2 separate regions of the Homo sapiens genome follow, and region 1 is linked to region 2. The links are contacts of gene promoters, found by promoter capture Hi-C in blood cells and fetal thymus (Javierre and others, 2016). All regions are on one chromosome and are shown on one strand. The core of a region is centred on a gene start or on the middle of the fragment in contact, and the rest is flanking DNA. Distances in the headings are between cores, read along the strand shown. Region 1 overlaps TMEM202-AS1 (TMEM202 antisense RNA 1). Region 2 holds the start of HIGD2B (HIG1 hypoxia inducible domain family member 2B).

Region 1 (5,265 bases), core at 602-3,101, 220 kb after region 2:
GAGGGGGTCTGATATGCATGTTCTCCGTGGCACTCCTTATCTAGGATTTCTCTAGGGCAAATGCTCATTTTACCTCCCACATCCCCAGTGGTAACTCAGCCTTTAATACTTCATGGCAAGATAGGATTGATGTTGGAATCCAGCTAAATTGGATACAAATGGTACAATGCAGCTTGGTTATGAATGAATAAAGGACTGCAACAGGAAGCAAAAATCTTTAGGACTTGAAGATTGTAGTAATAGTAAACCCAGAAATAGCAGCACCTGATAGGACCACACAGCCCCAAAGTTTTCAGAAATGAAAAAGCTTTCTTTTTTTGTCTTTTTGTTTTCTCTCTTGGTTTTTTGGTTCTTTTGGTTTCATTTGAGACAATACCATGATTTAGTAGGCATAGTCACCTCTTCCACCCCAGGAACCAAATGCCACTCCCTACAGTTATTTTGCAAAGTGGCATCACAGACATCTTTAGTAAAGTAATAATGGAGAGCTTGTGATACTTGACAAGAAGTCTTTATAAGCCGCTTCACATTTTGCTTTCTGGAAAAGATAATTTAACATTGGATACGTGGATTGACACATTTAAATTGCTGGAGCAGCATACCAAGTTCCTTTTTTTTTTGTTATTTTGAGGTGAAGTTTCAGTTTCGCTGTTGTCCAGGCTGGAGGGCAATGGCGCGATCTCAGCTCACCACAACCTCTGCTTCCCGGGTTGAAGCAATTCTCCTGCCTCAGCCTCCTGAGTAGCTGGGATTACAGGCATGCGCCACTATGTCTAGCTAATTTTGTATTTTTAGTAGAGATGGGGTTTCTCCATGTTGGTCAGGCTGGTCTCAAACTCCCGACCTCAGGTGATCCGCCCACCTTGTCCTCCCAAAGTGCTGGAATTACAGGCGTGAGCCACCGCACCCGGCCTCAAGTTCCCATTTTAAAGAATTTGACAGGACAATAAAGTAATTAAAATCATTACATTGTATCTACATGTTATTAAAACAGAATAGTCCTGGAGGTTTATACCATATTGATTAGTATATTTGTTTACATTAAGCAAAGCCGAGCATATGTGGGCACATTTTTTTTCTAAATCACAAGCTGCATGTATGAGCCGTGAGCCTTTGTTTCTCCTAAGTGAGTGTATATGGGAGATTGCAGGTGGAGAGGGTCAGACAGAGGGATGAGATATTGTGCAACAGTGAGTATTCTTACTCAGCTGACTTTGAGAGGCACAATAGTGTGGTAGTTAGCACCATACATGCCAGAGCTAGAAACCCTACTTATTAAATATGTGACCTTAGGCAAATTAGTTTACCTCTTACAAGCCTGTTTCCTCATCTGAGGAAAAAAAAAGGAAAAATAATAAGGTTTTCCTCATTGGATTGCAATGATGAAATGAGTTAGTGTAAAGGACTTACATTATTATTATTTGACACAGGAAGTGTACAGAGCTTTGTTTTAGGTCTGACTATATACAAAGATGATTATTCAATTTTAAAGTAGTGGCCCTTTGAAGAAAACAAAGCAATATTCATTTGTCAAATTGCTGAAAATGCTACTGTGCTCTTCTTGTATGCCTGTATTTTTATTAGTTAATTCAACAAGTCAGTTGTTCACTAACATGTCAGGCACTGTGCTAGATGTTGAGGTTAAGAAGATAAATAGGCCAGGCGCGGTGGCTCACGCCTGTCTGTAATTCCAGCACATTGGGAGGCCGAGGCGAGCGGATCGCCTGAGGTTGGGAGTTTGAGACCAGCCTGGCCAGACGGTGAAATCCTGTCTCTATTAAAAATGCAAAAAAAAAAAAAAAAATTAGCCAGGTGTGCTGGCATGCGCCTGTAAACCAGCTGCTCAGGATGCTGAGGCAGGAGAATCACTTGAACCCAGGAGGCGGAGGTTGCAGTGAGCCGAGATCCCGCCATTGCACTCCAGCCTGGACAACAGAACGAGACTCTGTCTGAAAAGATAAATAAATAAAACCATTTCAGCTCTCAAGAAGTTCTCAGGCTAGTAAGAGAAGCAGACATGTAAACCATTAATTATAAGTACTATAGTAGAAGTATGATCTGAATGTTAGGGAAGCAAGAATATATGTATCTAACTCAGTGTAGAAGGCACACAAGCGTGTCATGGAGGCCTTCCTAGGGAAAATGTGGCCTGAGCTGGCCAAGCATGGTGGCTCACGCCTGTAATCCCAGCACTTTGGGAGGCCAAGGTGGGCGGATCACGAGGTCAGGATATCGAGACCATCCTGGCTAACACGGTGAAACCCCGTCTCTACTAAAATATATATTTTTTTAAATTAGCCAGGTGTGGTGGCGGGCGCCTGTAGTCCCAGCTACTTGGGAGGCTGAGGCAGGAGAATGGCGTGAACCTGGGAGGCAGAGTTTGCAGTGAGCCAGGATCGTGCCACTGCACTCTAGCCTGGGCAACAGAGCAAGACTCCATCCAAAAAAAAAAAAAGTGTGACCTGAGCTGAGTATTGGAGGACAAATAAATGATGTTCTGGGAAGAGGAATGTGAATGTATATATAAAATATGTAAGTGTGAAATACGGCATATTTGAGCCATGCATTATTTGGGGAACTGCCAGAAATTCAGCATGCCTGAAATTTTGGGTGTATATAAGACTGTTAGGGCCAGGCACGGCGGCTCATGCTTGTAATCCCAGCACTTTGGGAGCCGAGGCAGGCGAATCACATGAGGCTAGGAGTTTGAGACCAGCCCGGCCAACATGGCGAAACCCTGTCTCTACTGAAAATACAAAAAATTAGCCAAACCTAGTGGCACTTGCCTGTAATCACAGCTACTCGGGGGGAGGGCTGAGGCACAAGAATCGCTTGAACCCGGGAGGCAGAGGTTGCAGTGAGCCAAGATCGCACCACTGCACTCCAGCCTGGAGACAGAGCGAGACCCTGTCTCAAAACAAAACAAAAACCTGCTAGAAATGCCATTGTCCCTTCTTGTACCCTTCCCCTAGAAAGGTCCCTTTTTTATTCTTTTTTATCCTCTTTCACTTTCTCTTTACATAACTTGGCTCAAGGCTCCTCGGCTTGCAAATGATAAGAGGTGGAAATCAAAGCCCTGATTCATCTCTCTGTCTCTAGTCTGTACTCCTTCTCTTATGCTACTTTGAAGATTTTCCATTCTTTGAATAAAATTTGTCATTATTTTACTAGGATTTTTGTGAGGGAGATTGTGATAGGTTGTGCTTTACTAGACTAATTTTGGTCATTACATTTAGATTTTATAGAGCTAATAGGATGAGTGCAAGTAGGGGAAGATGTACTCCATATTAATTCAATTAAATATACATATACTGAATGCAGTTGAACGTAACTATTGTGTTAGCTATTATTGAAAATACAAATCAGATTACATTTTCTGTCCTTAAGAAGCTTATATTCTAATACAGGAAATCATGCAGGAAAAAAATCTAATGCCAGATGGTTCGTCAAACAGCTGTCTGTTAAGCTTAGCACTAGGGCCATGTTTCTCAACTTTTATTTCCATTATCAGCCCCCTTATGGAACCCTTTTAGACCTGTTTTTCCTATTCAGCACCCCACTGTAAAATTTTAACACCATAGATACACTGTATATGCTTTAATGGACTGTATGTGTATCTATGCTTTATATATAAAACATACTTTTTTTCATACCCTCCCAAAAAAACAATTTTTTCCTCTTGGGGAGTAATATTGCCCATGTTGAAAATGTGTACACTAAACTAGAGTTACCATTTGCAAGGTCTAAGATTGGGAGTAAAATTCTAGTTTCAGGATTTTAGTAAATATCTAACCATATATTATAATTTAGAAATTAAATTTTCTGAGTTCAGGTAAAACGCACAGCACTGTCAGCATCAGATCAAAAAATAAAATAATTGTATATGCACATACTTGTGTGGCTAAGCTTAAGCTTGTCACGTTGTGCAACTTCAGAGAGTATATTTACAGTATAGTCTGTGTGATGGGAAGGAAAGGAGGGAATGAAAAATCATTTGAAATTATAACCATGATGTGATTAAAAGACAAAATCATCTTAAAGTTTTCTTGACATTCCTATCTTGAACAGAATTATGTGTTTGTCCTTTGCAATATATAATTAATTCTCTGTGAATGTTTAAGTCACCCACATATTAATTTACATACAGGCCAAAAATGTATACCAACCAGAATATTCACAGAATATACACACTTATTTTATTCTTGAATATAGAGCTAAGAACATGAATGCTGTGCTAATTTTTACTCCATAAAGACATTATAAATCAGTTTTATCAAAGCTTAAGTACCCACCCTAGGACAAAAATAAATTATTCTGACCTATATGCCAAGGAACTAAAGGAGATCTCCAGCCACCAAAAAACCTGTGAGGAACTGAATTCCTACCAAAGAACTGAAAGCCTTGGCTTAACAGCCTATGAGGAGCTGCATTCTGCCAACAACCATGTAAGCAAACTTGGAAGTGAATCTTCCTGCAGATGCGATCGCAGCCCTGGGCAAGACTTTTGTTTGCATCTTTGCGAGAGATCCTGAAACAGAGAACCCAGCTAAGCCACACCCAGATTCTGACCCAGGGATACTCTGAAATAATAAATGTTCATTGTTGTTTTTTGTTTGGTTGGTTTTGTGTGTGTATGGTTGGGTTTTTTGGGTATTCCCCCTCCCCCCAAAAAATGAGGTCTCCCTATGCTGCCCAAGCTGGTCTCTAACTCCTGGGTTTAAGCAGTACTTCCACCTCAGCCTCCTGAGTAGCTGGGATTACAAACGTACACCACTGTGCCCTGTTGTTTTTTAATTGAATTCTCCTCCACTTCCACCAAACCATCTCCTTTTAAAGATCAACTGTTCAATAAGTACCTGAACAGTTGATAGATTCCACATACTATACACTACCATAGAACTTAGCACTTCTTTATAGCATTTATCAAATTTGCACTTAAACAGTATGTTGTCTCTCTGAGTTGGTAAATTACATAAGGATGAGAACATCCCTGCTGTGTTTATTACTACAAACCATATATAACACAGTTTTTGATATTTAGAAGACATGCAATAAATAAGGTAAAAATTTGTCTCCCCATTCGTTTTACCAAGTTATATCCTTGTCCTATGTTATATATAAAAATAAAATCTACATAAAGGTCTGAAGAAAGAAAACATAAAATTAGTGGGAGAAATATTGTTGAATATTTAAATATTTGAGAGTGGGGAAGGCCTTATCAAGGATAGCACCAAAGGCAATATCTATAAAGCAAAAGATTGATAG
Region 2 (5,820 bases), core at 280-2,779:
GGCGATCCACCCACCTCAGCCTCCCAAGGTGCTAGGATTACAGGCGTGAGCCACTGAGCCTGGCCTATTTAATTATTTTAAAATCTGTTTTTTCTTTCTTTTTTTTTGAGAAGGAGTCTGTCTCTGTCGCTCATGCTGGAGTGCAATGGCATGATCTCGGCTCACTGCAACCTCCGCCTCCGGGGTTCAAGCGATTCTCCTGCCTCAGCCTTCCAGGTACCTGGGATTACAGGCGAGCGCCACGATGCCCCGCTAATTTTTGTATTTTTAGTAGAGACGGGGTTTCACCATGTTGGCCAGGATGGTCTCAAACTCATGACCTCAAGTGATCCACCCGTCTCGGCCTCCCAAAGTGCTGGGATTACAGGCGTGATGCACCGCGTCCGGCCTAGCTATTTTAAATTTCTTAGCTTAATAAAAATGTTTCGGCCGGGCGTGGTGGCAGGCGCCTGTATTCTCAGCTAATCCGGAGGCTGAGGCAGGAGAATTGCTGGAACCTGGGAGGCGGAGGTTGCAGTGAGCCGAGATCGCGCCATTGCACTCCAGCCCGGGCCGACAACAGCGACACTCCGTCTCAAAAAAAAAAGTTTCTGTCTTCAGAGTTTTCTAATTAGACTAGAATAATATGACTACTCTGCAAATGAGAGTAGAAAACAAACAAAAGGCCCTCTAACAATAACACTAACCTTGCTGCTTAGCCAAAACTAAGTTGTAAAACAGCCAAAGGCTGCTATTTGTACTGTTTTCCAGGGCGTTTTTCGAAAGACAATAAATTCCGAATACCTAAAATCATTCTAACAAATGGACAGAACAGGCTTTCAAACCCAACACTAAAGCAAGGTAAACAAAGCTTCACACTTGGCACTTTACCGAAATTAGATCCAATTATAGATATATGCCTCAAAAAATAGCGACTAGGTCATCCTGAATTCATCGGGTTCCTCTATATTAGCAGTTCTGTGGAGTGAACGCCCAACTCAGCCTTCAGATGAATTCCAAAACCGTACTTTCCTAAACTTAATCACCACAGAAAAAACACAGTCCCGCTCCACTGGCAGAAGGCAGTGACGCTGCAAGCTTCCAGGCATGTTAAATTCCCAATTCACGGGATTAACAGGAACTGTCTACACAAGTGCTAGTCATTACCTTCCAAACCCCCGAGACAGAAAAAGATGGCACTACGGTAAGAGCCATTACTGGTGAAAAGTCTCCCTTCTCCGTCCAGCGCACCCCAAGAGGGACTACAGTCCTAGAACAGGACCTGTGCTGCTAAGTATCCAGACTTGCCCCAGGCGACCAGTTCCCGGGACAGTAAAAAGGGGACCGTGTCGCCCCGCCCACCCTGAGACGCTCGGCACCCAGCTCCGCCTCTCTCCAGGAACCGCTGCATGGGACAAAAGCCACCCGCCAGCTTGCCTTGCCCTGCGGCCGGGCAACTAAAGAGAATCTCGGCGCTCACCGTCGCGACTCTCTCCTCAGCCATTTTAGCTCAGCCCACCGCTGCGCGGCCGGAAGTCGGCGGTTTCCCAGACGACGAGGCAAGCGGAAGTCGTAGGGCTGTGGAGGACTGTGAGGAAGCGGGGGAAGGAAGTAAATCGCCGAGTGACCTAAGGAATCAGGGGGAGGATTAGGGTCTGCTCCACAGAAGGCTTACCTCTGAAAGAGTCGGGGAGGGAATGCGCAGCCACTCGCTGCCTTTATCCCGAGAAGCCCCTAACACCCCTCGCCGTGGTCTGTACATGGTCTGTACCTCCGGCCGCGCTGGCTGGTAGGCCAGCCACCTGGGATGGCAGCCTAGTTCTCCCGCCACCTTACCCTGCCCTGACTCTAATCTGCATTTAATTCAGTCCTTCTTCCGGGAGATTTCGGCGGAGAATTTCTTTCTCGCCTTAGGTACAAAACTCCCCGTTTCTTGGCTGTCACTATCGAACTGAGGTACTCACCTTATCAGCTTCCCACTCTTGTTTACTCCAGAGTTTGCAAACATGCTCCTGGTGGGCTGCATTTGAACGGCAGTCTTTTGATTGGAAATATTTAAAAGTTAGGAGATTTCACAAGAAATCGGCCATGGGATAAAGAGACGACAGTCGGCGTTTTCTGCAAGGCAGTGAAATAGATCTGAATAGCGGCTGCGACTGTAGATAACTTCCCTTCCTAACATACTTAAGGCGTTCTCCATTACCTGTCTGGCCCCCGGTGCGGTGAATTAAATGTTTAGTGTTTCTAAACTAGGAAAACGTGTGGGCTTTGGAATCAAACATGAGTTCTGAATTTGACTACTGCATGACCTAAGCCCGTCGTTTCTTTGAGCCTCATTTATTAAAGTGCCGGGAGCTGTGTGATGAACAAAACGGAGGATCCCTGCACCTGAGCACTGACATTAGCCCCAATTCATACTTTTAAGTCTCGCCCTTGTAATTTAGACATAAAATCTGCCTCTCCCAATTCATTAACTGGGAAAGCATTTAAGACAAGTTTCTCCAGGCCTCTAAGAGAGGGAGAACCCCACTGACAATTAGAGTTACATAGAAGAAACAAGTACGGTAATCTATCCAAATACAAGGGGAAAGGACAGCAATAGAATAACAGCTCTTCTAAGTATTTCAGTAACACTCTCTCTTTTAATCTTTATAACAATCCCATGAGACTGTTGGTCTCCCACTTTTTTCAGATAAATACTCTGCCTTTCATTTATTAAAAATAAAATTTTCCAGCTTGGCCAGCATGGTGAAACCCCGTCTCTACTAAAAATACAAAAAATTAGTCGGGCATGGTGGTGCCCGCCTGTAATCGCAGCTACTCGGGAGGCTGAGTCAGGAGAATCACTTGAACCCAAGCGGCAGAGGTTGCAGTGAGCCGAGATCGCATTTCTGTGCTCCAGCCTGGGCGATAGAGGGAGACTCCGTCTAAAAAACAAAAATTTGCTGGGCTCGGTGGCTCACGCCTGTAATCCCAGGACTTTGTGAGGCTGAGGTGGGCAGATCACCTGAGGTCAGGAGTTCAAGACCAGCCTGGCCAACATGGTGTAACCCTGTCTCTACTAAAAATACAAAAAATTATCCGGGCGTGGTGGCCGGCTCCTGTAATCCCAGCTACTAGGGAAGCTGAGGCAGGAGAATTGCTTGAATCCAGGAGGTGGAAGTTACAGTGAGCTGAGATCATCCCATTGCACTCCAGCCTGGGCAACAAGAGCAAAACTCTGTCTCAAAAAAATTTTTTTTCAGAGGCAGGGGTCTCACTATTGATGTCCAGACTGGACTTGAACTCCTAGGCTCAAGTAATCCTCCTGAGGCAGGAAAATAGGGTCTGGAGGTAGGGAACATAAGGCCAATTCACACTTCAGCTATAACAGGTAATATTCTGTCCATAGGGCATAGGCCATAAATGTCTTTGTAACTTTACTTCATCTTCTCTATTTACATAAGGCATACCCGAAGTAACCATGGAATCCTCTGGGGTTATTTAAACTCCCCAAAATTCTGTAACGGAGCCACTGAACTTCTAAGCTCAGGCCCGCTCCCACACTGGAGTGTACTTTCATGTTCAGTAAATTCCTTGTCCCTTCCTTGCTTTGTTTGTGCATTTTGTCCAATTCTTTTTTCAAGACACCAAGAACCTGGACACCCTCCACCTTTAACACTTCCACCTCATCCTCTCAAGTAGCTAGGATTACAGGCACCAGTCACCATGCCTGGTGCTAAATTCTCCACTTTTCAGAGATTAATTAAACACCTTGCCTAAGTGAGCCGAGATCGTGCCACTGCACTCCAGCCTGGGAGACAGAGCAAGACTGTCTCAAAAAAAAAAAAAAAGATATAAAGATGAAAAATTATTAATTTCTAATCCACAGTGCTTAGTTTTTTTGTTTTTGGGACAGGATCTCGCTCTGTTGCCCAGGCGGAAGTGCAGTGGGACAATCACGGCTCACTGCAGCCTCTACCTCCCAGGCTCAAGTGATCCTCCCACCTCAGCCTCCTGAGTAGCTGGGACTACAGCTTCATGCCACCACACCCAGCTAATTTTTGTATCTTTTGTAAAGATGGGGTTTCATCATGTTACCTAGGCTGGTCTCAAGCTCCTGAGCTCAAGCAATCCAGCCAACTTGGCCTCCCAAAGTGTGGAATTACAGGCGTGAGCCACCCCGCCCAACCCACAGCGCTTAGTTTCATGCAGTTTTTCAGTATTCCAGTCCTCTTCATGGGCGGGGTTACTACGCAACACTGGCAGTCTAGGAAGAAATCATTCCAAAGGATCAAAAAAAAAAAAAAAAAAGGAGGAATTGAAGCTAATATCTTCTGCCCTATTCTTTTTATCTTCTACCCTATTTTTTCTTTTAACACATATTCTTTTTGCCACTTTCAAAAGACTGATTCTCAATCTGACATGTCACTCCCTGTTCTCTTCAGTTACCCTTTAGTTCTGCTGATGTGGGGAATCCCCAACACTCCTCTACAGAGAATATACAACATCCAGAACAAAATTTTCCAAAGGCTTCTTCACTAAAGTGTAAGAAACTACTTTCATCTTTTCCTTCAAAGATGCAACAATTTATTTCAGGGACTAAATGTCCAAGTTCCCTTTAACCACCAGATCAAAAAACATTCTAGAAAAACTCCTCTATTATTTCCACCAAATGATAAAAAGTAGAAGCCATTACGTCTCCTTTTTCAGAGCAAAGAACTACAGACTCAGGCCTAGTCCATTTACATGACTGTCTGGGGGTGCCTGCTGCAGTCAGGAGGGCCAGGTGGCAGCTTGGTCAGCGGTGAATAGCGAATAGACTGCAGCATTCTCCTTATAAAGGATTTACTCCTCAATTCCAAACCTTTCCTCAAGGGATTAACAGAAAAGCCAGTAGATGGTGAAACTTAAGTGGGGAATGGATTACAAAGGCTAACTGGTATCTGTAGATGGCTATATGAACATGTAACTTGCAAATACAGAAGAATACATAGTTAAAGTGTTGTCTAGACATCTGGATGAAGTTTTCATTTTATTTTATTTTATCTTATTTTTAGACAGAGTCTCGCTCTATCACCCAGGCTGGAGTGCAGTGGTGCGATCTCAGCTCACTGCAACCTCCAGGTTCAAGTGATTCTCGTGCCTTGGCCTCCCAAGTAGCTGGGATTACAAGCGTCAGCCACCACACCTGGCTAATTGTTGTATTTTTAGTAGAGACAGGATTTCACCATGTTGGCCAGGCTGGTCTCAAACTCCTGACCTCAAGTGATCTGCCTGCCTTGGCCTCCCAAAATGCCAGGATTACAGGCATGAGCCACCATGCCTAGTGTGGATGAAGTTTTAATAAGGTATAATAATGTCCTTCATATCAGAGGTGTGGAAGAAAAGGAAGAGGATGGGGAAATGAGAGAAGAGCATCTTTTCTGGGGGATTTTTAAAATACATATTTCTACACAATAAAGATTTGTTTTTCAAATAAATAAATTACTCTATAGCACCCTTATATACTGTCAGTTCAATAAGTTGTTAACATCTTTTGGAAGGCATCTGGCATTATAAATCCTTAAAAATGTGCATACCCTTTGATCAGTTCTATTTCTGAAATTATATGCTAAGGAAGCAATCAAGAAAACAAAGATTTATAAGAAGAGTATTTACTACACATTTAGTTTGGATAATTAAAAATAATACTTTAAAACTGGAAAGAAAGCTGGGCCCAGTGACTCGCGTCTATAATCCCAAGGCCCAGTGACTTGCGTCTATAATCAAGGTAGTGCCACACTCCTGCCTGGGCAACAGCACGAAACTCTGTCTCAATAATAATAATAATTTTAAAGGAGTCCAAGTGCGGTGGCTCAT

The links. Contacts are between HindIII fragments. The CHiCAGO score rates a contact against its expected background, and 5 or more counts as called.
Region 1: a fragment that was not itself captured here is called in contact with the fragment with the promoter of HIGD2B in region 2 in 1 of 17 cell types (naive CD4 T cells); the score reaches 5.0 in naive CD4 T cells.

What each region holds. Positions count from the first base shown.
Region 1 is chr15:72,459,814-72,465,078 of GRCh38, reverse strand. All of the region lies in intron 1 of TMEM202-AS1 (TMEM202 antisense RNA 1), which reads left to right. Among named protein-coding and RNA genes, the nearest start is that of TMEM202-AS1, 12 kb to the left of the region's middle. RefSeq lists an enhancer at 2,804-3,073. The HindIII fragment of the contact is 3,083 bases long and covers 310-3,392 here.
Region 2 is chr15:72,681,891-72,687,710 of GRCh38, reverse strand. HIGD2B (HIG1 hypoxia inducible domain family member 2B) reads left to right here and starts at 1,529. Exons shown (of 3, transcript NM_001350932.3): 1 at 1,529-1,893. BBS4 (Bardet-Biedl syndrome 4) reads right to left here and starts at 1,504. Exons shown (of 16, transcript NM_033028.5): 1 at 1,460-1,504. The coding sequence starts at 1,483. The HindIII fragment of the contact is 12,662 bases long and covers 1,080-5,820 here.